Regions from separate parts of the Homo sapiens genome. Here region 1 is linked to region 2. The links are contacts of gene promoters, found by promoter capture Hi-C in human tissues and cell types (Jung and others, 2019). All regions are on one chromosome and are shown on one strand. Each heading gives the region's core, a stretch centred on a gene start or on the middle of the fragment in contact. The rest is flanking DNA. Distances are from core to core; before and after follow the strand shown. Region 1 overlaps UGT1A8 (UDP glucuronosyltransferase family 1 member A8). Region 2 holds the start of UGT1A6 (UDP glucuronosyltransferase family 1 member A6).

Region 1 (6,882 bases), core at 2,876-5,375, 33 kb before region 2:
CCTCTTGCTATGATCAGTTTTCTCACTTTCACTTTTACACCTCTGATCACTGAAAAATTACAGAATTATAAGTTTGGAAAAGGAGTCTATATTTCTTGGAAAAGGTTACAACCTTCAAGGTGGCCATCTAGCTGGCTGGGAAGCATGACCTCTGGCAAATACCAGAGACAGGCCCTTGAAAGGAGAAGGGATGGGGTAGGAGCTTTATGCTGAACAAACAGGGTAAACATACATATTCACCAGGTTACAGAAGGAGCTATGAATATTTATGAAGGCCATCCTGACTCATGCGTATTGAACACACATGCATGTTACATATGACCCGTGTTCACCCTGGGGTGGAGACATCATATTTAAATGGATTACAATTAGGCCCTATACATCAAAAGGTCTCTTCAGGGCACAAAGGCACTCAAATTCACAGTCTCCGTAAACTGGCCAGAACCAGTCTGTGATCACCAGTCACTGGTCTTCTTACCAGGAGAAAGTTACTGAAATCAGCCTCTTGTCCAATGAAAGCAGTATTTGTGGCTTATGGAACAAGGAATGGACGTCAGTTAGTCAGTGTCCGGTGGAGGTGCACTTGTTTAACATTGTTTTTCTCTAGACCTGTGCTTATTTAGCTGCTAGAGAAAAAGAAAAACTCTGTGGCAGTTGGAACATAGTTTATTCTTTAAGTGTAGGCGCCCATGACTCAACTCTTGCCTGGCGTGGTTTGAGGTCTTGTGTGTAGTTTTGTATCTGATTGCCACAAAAAGTCCACTGAGTCCATCTCATCTCTATTTTAACACTAAAGTGGGTCAGTTGTGTTTAAACCACAAAAGGGAGGGAGTGTGACGAGGCGTGTCCAGCCTTCTGTCCCGTCGTGGCTGTGACTCAGTTTTGAAGGTTTCTTTGGGGTCCCGCTGGCCAGGAGGGTTCGATTCACTTGTTGTGGGAGACGGGCGGCACTTAGTATTTTCTTTTCAGTTTACACGTTCCTGGGCATCCCTATTAAGATGTGCAGATAAACACGCACATGCTTCATGTGGCATCTCCCTTAGTTAAACATCTTTTTTTTTTTTCCTTTCCTGTGAGTCTTCCTGAAACAGGTGAGCCCAGGTGGAGCCTCCGCCTGCGTTAGGACCTAACCTTTCTACGTCTTTATGAAATCCCTGGTGTCAGTTACTGCTGCTTCCCCTCACCAGCTTCTTTCCTTTGGTCTACCCTAAGAATGTGATACCCAACACAATACACCGTCTCTTTGGCCCACTCAAGACATTCTGGTGATGCCCTGTGGCCTGCTGGCCCCCACTAGCTATCAAGGTCCCCCATCATCTCACCTTTCCTGGCTCATGGGCTTTATTTTATGCCACTCTTCATGCTCAGAAGCACCTGGCGGTTTAGTTTTTTTGTGTTGCTCTAAAGGAATACCTGGGGCTGGGTAATGTATAAGGAAGAGATAATATCTGGCCCTCAGTTCTGCAGGCTGTATAAGAATCATGGTACCAACATCTGTTTCTGGCAAAAGACTTGGGCTACTTCCACTCATGGCAGAAGGTGAATGTGGAAGGTGCTGATCACAAGGTGAGAAAGAAGCAAGAGAAAAAGGAGGGGTTGCCAGGATCTTTTTAACAATCAGTTCTTGCAGGAGCAATAGGACAGGAACTCACCCATTATCGGGAAAAACATACTAGGTCATTTGTGAGAGATCCATCCCTGTAACCCAGATACCTCCCACTAAGCCCCACCTCCAACATTAGGGATTAAATTTCAACACTTGACTTGAGGGAGTCAGATATCTAAACTATATCATTTGATATGGTCAGTCTTTTTGATTGCAGCTATTCTAATGGGTATGTAAATTAAATTGCAATTTTAATTTGATTTTCCTATTTAAATATGATGTTGAGCATCTTTATGTGTGACTGTTTGCCATCTGTATATGTTCTTTGGTAAATGTTCAGGTCTATGCCACTTTTTAAGAAATTGGGTTTTCTCTTCATTATTGAGGTTTAAAAGTTATTTATATATTCTGGATATTTATACTTTATCAGTTTCTGGGCTTTTTTCCATGAAACTTTTTATTTTAGAAGAAATTTAGATTTATGCAAGGTTGCAAGAACTAGCACAGAGAATTTTCATATCCTGTGCCTAGTTTCCTCCTCTTTTTTTTTTTTTTTTTTGAGACAAAGTGTCACTCTGTCACCCAGGCTGGAGTGCAGTGGGGCAATCTTGGCTCACTGCAACCTCTGCCTCCTGGGTTCAAATGATTCTTGTGCCTCAGCCTCCTGAGTAGCTGGGATTACAGGTGCACACCACCATGCCCAGCTAATTTTTGTATTTTTAGTAGACACAGGGTTTCACCATGTTGACCAGGCTGGCCTCAAACTCCTGACCTCAAGAGACCCACGGACCTTGGCCTCCCAAAGTGCTGGGATTACAGGTGTGAGCAATGGCACCCATCCTCCCCTATGGTTAAATGTTACGTTACTATAGCATATTATCACAACTCATTAACCAACATTTGATACATTATGATGAACTAAAGTCTGTGTTCTCTGCAGATGTCATTAATTTTTACCTAATGTCCTTTTTCATTTCTAGGATCCCATCCTGGATACCAAATGACATTTAGCCCATCACGCCCCCTTCATCTCCTGTACCGTGTGACAGTTTTTCAGACTTTCCTTGTTTTCGATGACTTTGACAGTTTTGAGCAGTTCTGGTCGGATGTTCTGTAGAATGTTTCTCAGTCTTGGTTTGTCTGATGTTTTGATCATGGTTAGACTGGGGTTATAGGTTTTAGGAAGTAAGACCACAAAGGTAATGTCTTTTCTTGCTTTCTTGACTATGGATAGCCAACTCTTGAAAAGAGTAGTCTTTTCTCCACTGAATTGTCTTTGCACTTTTGTAAAAACTTGGTTGTTCATACTGCTAAACATCTATTTCTGGACTTTCTACTCTGTTCCATTGATCCAGTTGTGAAATATGTGATAATTATAGCTTTGTAATGTCTTGAAATGAGTAGTATTAGCTCTCTAATTTTTTTCAAAGTTGTTTTTGCTATTGTAGGTTTTCTACATTTCTGTATGAATTTTAGAGTCAGTTTGCCAATTTGCACAAAAAAAAGCCTGTTGGGATTTTGGTTGAAATCATATTTAAGTTACAGTTCAACTGGGGAGAAACAGCATCCTAACAATTTTGAGTTTTCCAATTCTTGAACATATCTCTATATTCAGATCTCTCCTCAGTGTTTTAGTTTTCAGTGTAGTCTTTCACATCTTTGATCAGATTTATCCCTAAGTATTTCATGTTTTTGATGTTAAGTGGTATTTTCATTCAATTTGCAATTGTTCATTGCTAGTACAGTTGACCCTTGAACAATGTGGAGATTAGGGATACCAACCTCGCAGGTAGTCTAAAATCCACATATCATTTTGACCCCCATAACTTAACTATTAATAGCCTACTGTATAGCAGAAGCCTTACCAATAACGTAAATAGCCAATGAACACATATTTGATATGCTTTATGTGTTATATACTGTATTATTGTAATAAAGTCAGCTAGATAAAAGAAAATGTTATTAAGAAAATTTTAAGGTTTGAGAAAAAATTTTAGGGTTGAGAAAAAATGTATTAAGTATTCATTAAGTGGGAGTGGATCATCATAAAGATCTTCCTTTTGATTGTCCTCCACTGAGTAGGCTGAGGAGGAAGAGGAGGGGTTGGTCTTGCTTTTTCAGGGATGGCAGATGAGGAAGAGGTGGAGGAGGTGGAAAGGGAGGCAGGAGAGGCAGGCGCACTCGATTTAACTTAATGGAAATACATCATAATTACTGTCTGACATTTTTGCTCTTTCAGTTCTTTAAAAATGCTTGATATAGTATGAATTCTTCTTCACCATTTGCTTTAGTTTCAGTGCCCATATCATAGAAGGGTACAATTTGCAAAAGAAGTCAAAAGCAGTCTTCAATAATCGGAATCCTTCTGCGAGATTGTCTAATGTCAATTTATTTTCTGACACTGCTTCTTCTGTATCTTCTTCCTCATTGTCTGGTACTGATTCAAAAGCACTCATCTCATCAAGTCATCTTCTGTTAATTCCTCAGGTGTGGTGTCTATTAGCTTTTAAGTATCTCCAAGATCTCTGTCTTCAAACTCTTTATGCCCACCTTGTTTTTCTTGCCTGCCATATCCACAATTTCTTTCATGAGTCCCTTGATTGGCTCTGTTTTAAGTCCTGTGAAGTCACGCACAACATCTGGACACAGTTTTCTGCAGCGATAATGTATTGTTTAGGGCTTGATGGCTTTCACAGCTTTTTCTATACAACAAGGACATCTTCCACAGTGTAATCCTTCTAGATTTTCATGATGTTCGCCCCGCTGACATTCTCTTCCATAGTGTTGACAATCCTTTCCATAGAAAACCATGTGTAATGAGCCTTAAAGTGCCTTGTAACCCCTTGTTCTAATGGCTGAATTAGAGATGATGTTTGAGGACATGGAGACCACTTTGGCTCCTTTTGTGTTGAATTCATGGGGTTCTGGATGGCTAGAGGCATTGTCCAATATCAAAAGTAATTTAAAAGACAGTCCTTTAGTGGCAAGGTATTTCTGATTTCAGAGACAAAGCGTTGGTTTTCATGGAACCAGTTTGGAAAAAGTGTTTCTGTTGTACTGGCCTTCTTGTTCTACAACAAAAAGACTGGGAGCTGGCGTTTATTTTTTCCCTTAAAGGCTCAAGGATTAGCAGCTTTATAGATAAGGTTATTCTTAATCATAAATTGGACTGTATTTGCATAAGACGACAGAGTTAGTCTATCTCTTCCTGGCTTAAATCCTCGTGCCCGCTTCTCTTCCTTACTTATAAATGTCTTTTGTGGCATTTTTTTTCTCTAGAATAGGGCACTTTTGCATGAATTAAAAACTGGCTCAGGCAGATATTCATTCTCCTCAATGCTTCTCTTCATGGGGTCTGGGAAGTCACCTGCTACCTCTTGTTTGGCAGAAGTTGCTTCTGTTATCTTGAGATTTTTAAAGTCAAACCTCTTTCTAAAACTAGCAAACCATCCTTTGCTGCCATTAAATTCTCCAGCTTTATATCCTTCAGTTTTATTTAGCTTTATGTTGTCATATAATGACTTTGTTTTTCTCAGGTCATATTAGAGTATATAGGTATGCCTTTCTTATAACCATCCTACACCCACATAAAAGCTGCATTTTTTATAATAAAATTTTATGTAGATAATCATGATACAGAATTACTCTTTGACAAATTATCTATGGATGTAATGACTCTAGTTTCAGACTTTTTTTTTCTGAAATATGTGAGCGTTCCCCAACAGTCTGGTCTATTTTCCTACCTTAATTTTCTACTTTTGGTCTTGAATTTGTTGATAGGGCACAGAGGACTTCCCATGAGGCTGTAAAGAACTTATTTCTCTGTGTGGGCTGTGCACACCATGGTGCTGTCATTACCATTACCACCAGGAGACTCCTTAAACACTTAGGATATATGATAGTTTTCACTTGGTTAAAAAATCTGCCAGTTTCTCAGTAAGACCTTTCTCACTATTAATCTTTAACCCACAGATGGAATCCTAGTTCTTTTTATCCATTAACTCTTTGAATATCCTTCTTTCTACCTTGGCAGTGGAGTCCATTGAGATTGAAAAGCTGCATTTTTAATATGAGATAAAAAGATATTTTGGAAAAAGTGCAAGGTTTGAAGCCTGCTGGCATCACTGCAGTGAAGACTTACTGAATTTTCTTTCTTTCTTTCTTTCTTTCTTTCTTTCTTTCTTTCTTTCTTTCTTTCTTTCTTTTTAAACAAAGGTCCTTATCTGGATTCTTTTTTTTTTTTTTAATGATCGCCAACCACAGCTGCAGTCCTCAACCTATGGTACATATCAAGCAATTCAACTTTTCTTGTAATATCATGAATTTCTCTGCTTCATGGGAGCACTTGAGGCATCACTAGCGACACTTTGTATGGGTCCTATGGTATTATTTAGAGTTTCTGATATGCACCAAACATGACAAACAATGCATGAGAACTGTGAGATCAGTGTTTACTGTGATACACAATTTACTGGAGGGATGAACTGTACACATGGAGATGATCAGCCTCACACGGCGTACTGAGTGGATACTTGCAACACTTGAACTCCCTGCAATAGCAACAGGGGGTGGCTATGAAATTATCACAATAGTACAGTAGGCACAGTTAACTCTATGCAGTTATGACTTAATGCTGCAAACTTACCTTTGTTACTTTTCTCTTGACTACAAATGGTGTCATGTATAGTCTGTAAGTGTTTGTGTGCATAAGTTTTGATAAATTTTAACTATTTAAAATAGATTTGTGTCTATAATATGGTAGTAAATGATAAAATAGACTCGTTGCTATATATATTTTAGGCATTCCTGACATACTCAAGTTTTTCTTAATTTTTTCACTATTGTAGGCTATGTGGCTTATCTGCAAGTTTTTCAATTTGTTGCAAATCTCCATAACATTTTCTAATATATTTATTGCAACAAATCTGCCCATAAATGGACCAACACCGTTGAAACTCTTAATGTTCATGAGTAACCATTTATATAAATGAAATTAACTTTTACTTATTGTATCCTGCAACCATGCTAAACTTACTTATTTGTTCTTGGAGGTTGTTGTAGAGTTTGTTGGAATTTCCCCATAGATGATCATGTTGACTGTGAATGAGATCCTTTTACTTTTCAGATCTGGATATTTTAAATTTCTTTTTCTTGTTTGACTGCATTGAATAGAACAATGTTGAATGGAAGTAGTAATTAGCCCCCATTCTTGGCATGTGTCTGATCTGAGGAGTGGAGCATTCAGTCTTTCACCATTAAGGATGATGTTAGCTGTG
Region 2 (6,780 bases), core at 2,217-4,716:
CAAGTAAAGGTTTTTAAGAGCAAGGATACATTTTAGGAAAACAGAAGTTACAAGAAGAAATCGCAAATCAATACGCAGAGGTTACACATTGGTTTGGTCATGAGAAGTGAGGGCTTGCAGGTCATAGGTGAATTCAGAGATTTTCTGATTTGCAATTAGCTAAGGAAGAGAAGCTTGGTTTAAAATTCGGGGTTAGCAGAAAAGAATGTTTGCTCTTGCTCATGAGTGTGACTTCCTCCAAGAACAAAGAATGGCTGTCAGAGTTCAGTCGTTATTTCCCCTTATCTGAGGTCTGCCTGCCAAAGAATCCATTTGGTGGGAGTCCAGGTTTCTGAAAAACAACTCGGGGACATATGTTATGATGTGATCTGTAGTTTCTATAGGAAACCAAACATCTCTGGACTCTAACTTTCTTGGATATTGTTTTAGGCTACTATTACCTTCTTGCTTATCAAGTGCCTTATTTATTTCTCAGGGCCAGGTAGGTGCCTGGAATTTCCTTCGAAAGAACCCAAGATTTTCCTTTATTTCCATGCTTGGAGGAACCCACAGGCCCCTAAAAGGGATTCTCACTTCATCTCACCATTTTGGACCTTCCTCAAGATCTGGGCCCAGAGCATTCTGACTTCTGCAGCCCCACCTCACAGCCTATCAAATAGATTAAATTGCTCCTGCATCTTATGTCACATATGTCTTTGTAACTTGGTGAGCTAATCTGTAGTGGATTCATTGACATGTAGTTATGTTTTTATAGCCATTTCATAAAATATTCATAAATTCAATGTTTGCCATTTTAGTATTCTAGATTCAGCAAATTTCTTATTTTAAGTCTCAAACATTTTGCAGGTCCTTTGAAATCTTGCAGGTGGGTCCTGGCTCCATTACTTATGGGTCGTAGGTCATACAAGGGTCTGAAAGAGTTAGCACCTTAGAAGCAAACCTCTCCATAGGGTCCACGTTTCCAGACCTTCCTATTCCCAACATGAAATTACCTTCATGCACATCTTTGGGTCTCTCCTCTATTCAAAATGCCAGCTATCCTCCATTTACTTTTTGGGAAATCTGCTCTTGCCAACAGAGATTTGTTTTATCTTAGGATCTACTTCTTTCACCCCACTGGAATATGTCCCAAGCCTGAGTCATTCAGCCTGCAGCAATCCCTGAGAAAAAAAAAAAATCGGCCTTTGCCTGGACACTCAAGTGATACCTGAGGACACCTTGACTCCTACAGCACCAACCAGGGCAGGCCTGGGTCTCCAGCGGAGCTACTCTTTAGGGATCGTCATTATGACGAACAGACATGCCAGATTCCTCTGGCTAGTGTCCAGTGCAGACATACACACACACACACATACACACACACACACACACACACACCATTCTTAGTACAGTCAAAGCTCACAGGAGAAAGAAAAATGTTTTCTAATACCTTCTTAATTTGCAAGAAGGTGTTAGGAATTCAAGGGATGGTATGCATAGTGATGTTAGTTTCATTTCTTCAGCTCCTTCCTCCAACTCATGTTCTGTAGGGACTTCTGGGACTAAGAACAGGACCCACATATGAGCAACAGGATTTTCAGAGCAAGGCTGTGGTTGGAAGGGCTCAGACCAACGTCCACAGCAGAGTGGAGGTCTAGTATAAAGAATGTGAAGTTTGTAGCATCTCTTGATCCCGCTATTCCTACATGCTTGCTTAAGCCATTCTTCCTCTAGATGAACTGTTCTTTGAAGGAAACCTGCCTAATGTCTGCCTGCTCAAGAAGGTGGACCTGAGCTCTGTTCCCTTTGCAACCTTCCTGGAGTCTTATTGCTATCTAGATGAACTCAAAGCAAGATGCTGCCGCCCCCATGACTTTGATCATTGTAAGCTGCCAATCCTCTTGGGAGGCTGCTCCCAGCTTGGACTGAGCTGAGTCTTCGCATGCCTTGAACAATGAATTTGCATCCTGGTTATGTTCCCCATGGGGGCCAGCCCTGTCCTTGGAGTGGCCCCTCTAATCATGTTGCTCAGGCTTCTTCTCCCTTCCTGGGCCCCAGAACACCTCCGGTGCCAAACTTGTGGGTGGGAACAGGAACTCGCGTGCCAGCCAGGTGTGCATGACTAGCTCTGGGCAAGTCTGTTCTAGTAATTCAAGGTACCACCTCTCACTGGGACAGCCTAGTTTCTACACAGGTCTTGCTCTGGGACCGCCCTCAGCAGTGTGGTTAGCAGGCAGGGCCAGTGTGACCCTCCCTTTCTGGGCCTCAGTTGAGAAACCTGAAGCTCAGGAGAGGAGTCACTCCCCTGGCAGATGGGTGGCTGGGCCAGAAGCAGATACCAGGCTTTCTGACTCCTGCTCTAGGATTCTCACCACGTACTGGCTAGACTTATACTTCTCAAATCTTAATTTCCTAAAGGCAAGTAACAGTTTGAATGTTGTTATATTGTGATGTATAATAAGAAATATATGTTTGTCTTTGTTTCCTGGACACAGCTCCTGAAACCATAAGTGGTGGGAGCGATAAACGTGAACAAAGAATCTTTTGTTATTCAAAACAGATCCCTTTCGATCACACCTAAGTTTATGTAAAGGAGATGTAAAGTCTCTAAGGATGAGGGCTAGTTGCCAGGGAACAAAACCCTTGCGATTAGAGGGAAGAAAGGAGAGAGAGATTGAAGATTGATTTGATCACCGATGGGCAACAATCTAATCAATCATGCCTACTATGTATGGAAGCCTACATAAAAACTCAGAAGGGCAGGGTTCAGAGAGCTTTCAGGTTGCTGAAGGTGTGGAGGGTGGGGCACCCAGAGATGGCAGATGGGGCTCCATGGCCATACCCCCATATCTTGTTCTTTGTACTTTTTCCTCTGGCTATTCATCCGTATTGTTTGCAATATCCTTTGTAATAAACCAAACCTAGTAAATAAACTGTTTTCTTCAGTTCTGTGAGCCATTCTAGCAAATGATTGACTCCAAGAAAGAGGGTGTGTGAACCTCTGATTTTTGCCAAGTCAGACAGAAGTTGTGGGTAACCTGGGGACCTACTACTTGCAATTGGTGTCTGAAGTGAGGGCAGTCTTGTAGGACTGAGCCCTTAACCTGTGGGGTCCGTGCTAACTCAGAATTCAGTTCAGAATGGAATTGAATTGTAGGATACCCAGCTGGTGTTAGAGAATAGGTCCGTGTGCAAGAAAAATTCCCGCACATCATGGACATAACAGACAACGTCAATGATGAGGAATCCAGCAAGTTCGGGATAGAGAATTGGCAGGGGGTCCTCAGGGGTCTCTCCAAGTCATCTTCAAAGTGTTGCTATAACTTTTCAGAGAGGGAGAAGCAGACTTGTGGAGCTGAAGAGAAACACCCAGAAGCTCAGGTGAAAGCTGACACGGCCATAGTTGGTTCATATTAACCATGTGATTAAAATGGTTAAATATTAATTTGGGTTCTTACATATCAAAGGGTAAAATTCAGAGCAAGGGAGAGGTAGACAGGACCTGTGAAAAGCAGTGGTTAGTTTAGGGAAAATACCTAGGAGCCCTGTGATTTGGAGAGTGAAAACTCTTTATTACCGTTGTTACTTTAACTCTTTCCAGGATGGCCTGCCTCCTTCGCTCATTTCAGAGAATTTCTGCAGGGGTTTTCTTCTTAGCACTTTGGGGCATGGTTGTAGGTGACAAGCTGCTGGTGGTCCCTCAGGACGGAAGCCACTGGCTTAGTATGAAGGATATAGTTGAGGTTCTCAGTGACCGGGGTCATGAGATTGTAGTGGTGGTGCCTGAAGTTAATTTGCTTTTGAAAGAATCCAAATACTACACAAGAAAAATCTATCCAGTGCCGTATGACCAAGAAGAGCTGAAGAACCGTTACCAATCATTTGGAAACAATCACTTTGCTGAGCGATCATTCCTAACTGCTCCTCAGACAGAGTACAGGAATAACATGATTGTTATTGGCCTGTACTTCATCAACTGCCAGAGCCTCCTGCAGGACAGGGACACCCTGAACTTCTTTAAGGAGAGCAAGTTTGATGCTCTTTTCACAGACCCAGCCTTACCCTGTGGGGTGATCCTGGCTGAGTATTTGGGCCTACCATCTGTGTACCTCTTCAGGGGTTTTCCGTGTTCCCTGGAGCATACATTCAGCAGAAGCCCAGACCCTGTGTCCTACATTCCCAGGTGCTACACAAAGTTTTCAGACCACATGACTTTTTCCCAACGAGTGGCCAACTTCCTTGTTAATTTGTTGGAGCCCTATCTATTTTATTGTCTGTTTTCAAAGTATGAAGAACTCGCATCAGCTGTCCTCAAGAGAGATGTGGATATAATCACCTTATATCAGAAGGTCTCTGTTTGGCTGTTAAGATATGACTTTGTGCTTGAATATCCTAGGCCGGTCATGCCCAACATGGTCTTCATTGGAGGTATCAACTGTAAGAAGAGGAAAGACTTGTCTCAGGTTGGTGGGTTTATTTCTTTTGGACTGCCTTGTTTCTTCCAGGCTCTGTCCTCCCTCACTCATTTGGCTCCTTGAGCCGACTGTCCCTTGGAGGATTTCCTGGAGAAACGGTGGGGGGAAGTGATACCCGGCTCGGAGCAGCGGGAACACATAGGAGACCTGAGGCTGAAGTGATACAGAGGCATTCGGATGAAGACAGGGCTCATGCTTGGCAAGAGTAGGAGATTTGCTTAGTTGGATAATCTGGGACAGTCACATACTCATTGAATGAGCCTTAGAAATGTCCCAGTTCAAACAGAGGTGAAGGCTTGACTAAGGGAACAGGTCCAGGTTAAAATCCATTTTCCCAACTCTGTCCCATGCTTTGTCTCTGGACCTTGAGCCAGGGACCAGCGAACTACAGCCTGTGAGCCCAATCTGCCCAAAGGCCTGTTTTTTGTTTTTTTTTTTCCTTTTATGTTGAGACCTGTTTTTATATGGCCCAGAGCTAAGAATGGTTTTTGTAGTTTTAAAACAATTTAACAATGAAGAATATGTGCCACAGAAGTATTTGGTCTGCAAAGCCTACACATTTACTGACTGGCCTTTTCAGCAAAAGGGGTATGGCCTCTGACCTAAGACAAGTGTTTACAGATGCCCTCCTGACATGTAGGAAAAGGGCCCAGAGTTACTTTGGAAAATAAAAATCTGTGAGTTTTAAATTTCAATGTAAATATTTACAACTTTGAAGGGCTTCAGGCAACTCCCTCTATCTTTTATGCCTCAATTTTCTTTTCCAGTTCCTTTTTTATCAGAGAGAAAGCCTCAAACAGGTCCCAAAGACCCTTACCTCTCTTCTTTACACCTGCTGATTTCTCTGTTAACAATTTGAACAGTTGGCAGTAGCCACTGTGAAAAGGCAAGGGTGAGGGGATGGGGATAACTGAAATGGTTCCAGGGATTCTGGGGCATGAAATAAAAACATAGAATGTCAGGATTCTTTTAATTGGGACATAATATAGTTGTACACATTTGGGGGGTTCATGTGATATTTTGATACACGTATACAATGTGCGATGATCAAATCAGGGTAATTGAGATATCCATCACCTTGAACATTTATTCCTTCCTTATGTTGGGAACATTCCCATTCTTCATTTCTAGCTATTTTGAACTGCAGTATACATTCTTGTTAACCATAGTCACCCTACTGTGCTATCGCACTTTGGACTTACTCATTCTATCTAATGGTGTTTTTGTGCCCATTAACCAACCCTTTTCTTTTCTTTTTTTTTTTTTTGAGACAGAGTCTCACTCTGTCATCAGGCTGGAGTGCAGTGGTGCGATCTCAGCCCACTGCAACCTCCACCTCCTGGGTTCAAGCGATTCTCCTGCCTCAGCCTCCTGAGTAGCTGGGACTATAGGCATGTGCCACCATTCCCAGCTAATTTTTGCATTTTTAGTAGAGGCGGGGTTTCACCACGTTGGCCAGGATGGTCTCAATCTCTTGACCTCGTGGTCCGCCCACCCCAGCCTCCCAAAGTGCTGGGATTACAGGCGTGAGCTACCGCGCCCGGCCTTCTTCTTCTTCTTTTTTTTTTGATCAACGTGCTTTATTGGCCCTTTAGATGTTTTTCTCTTTTCTATCAAAGTTTTTGGAGTATTACAAATTTTATTTCTTTTTTCTTTTTCTTTTTTAAATTTTAACCAACCATTTTCACCCCCCCTTCCCTACTTACCCTTTCCACCTTCTGGTAATTACCAATGAACTCTCTACCTCCATGAGACCCACTTTTTTAGCTCCACATATAAATGAGAACATGTGGTATTTGTCTTTCTGTGCCTAGATTATTTCACCTAACATAATGACTTCCAGTTACATTTATGTTGCTGCACATGACAGGTCTTCATCCTTTTTTATGGCTGAATAATTTTCCATTCTGTATATGTACTATCTGTGAGTGGAAAACAAAACCAACAAAAAACTCAAAGGGTTTTTCCTGTTTTCTCACTCAACAACAAACAACGCAGAAAACTTCAGTGAACAAATGTGTGGGGTTTTTTTTCTCCACACACCAAGCAAGCAGGCAATTCTGCCAGATACCAGCTGGGTGTCCTCTAATTCAGTTCTGAAGATGTCCACCTGAAGATAGCATCAGGTCCCACAGACATGGGGCTCAGTCCCTAATTTACATTTGAAGAATGTAAATTAGTACAGCCACTATGAAGAACAGTATGGAGAGTCTTCAAAACAAAACAAAACAAAAAGAACTAGAACTGCCCCAATATATCCCATTGCTGGGTATATATCCAAAAGAAAAAAATATATATTGAAGAGCTATCTGCACTCCCATGTTTA

Evidence for each region. The method cuts DNA at HindIII sites, captures the fragments that hold promoters and counts their contacts. A contact is called where the count stands out against the background at its distance.
Region 1: a contact is called between a fragment that was not itself captured here and the fragment with the promoter of UGT1A6 in region 2, in 2 of the 25 tissues and cell types used here (pancreas and psoas muscle).

What each region holds. Positions count from the first base shown.
Region 1 is chr2:233,655,872-233,662,753 of GRCh38, forward strand. The region is part of intron 1 of UGT1A8 (UDP glucuronosyltransferase family 1 member A8); the gene reads left to right. All of the region lies in intron 1 of UGT1A10 (UDP glucuronosyltransferase family 1 member A10), which reads left to right. It also overlaps UGT1A. Among named protein-coding and RNA genes, the nearest start is that of UGT1A9, 13 kb to the right of the region's middle. The HindIII fragment of the contact is 7,367 bases long and covers 443-6,882 here.
Region 2 is chr2:233,689,424-233,696,203 of GRCh38, forward strand. It overlaps UGT1A6 (UDP glucuronosyltransferase family 1 member A6), which reads left to right and starts at 3,467. Exons shown (of 5, transcript NM_001072.4): 1 at 3,467-4,442. The coding sequence starts at 3,582. All of the region lies in intron 1 of UGT1A8 (UDP glucuronosyltransferase family 1 member A8), which reads left to right. All of the region lies in intron 1 of UGT1A10 (UDP glucuronosyltransferase family 1 member A10), which reads left to right. All of the region lies in intron 1 of UGT1A9 (UDP glucuronosyltransferase family 1 member A9), which reads left to right. It also overlaps UGT1A7 and UGT1A. RefSeq lists enhancers at 1,605-2,212, 2,213-2,819. The HindIII fragment of the contact is 31,227 bases long and covers 1-6,780 here.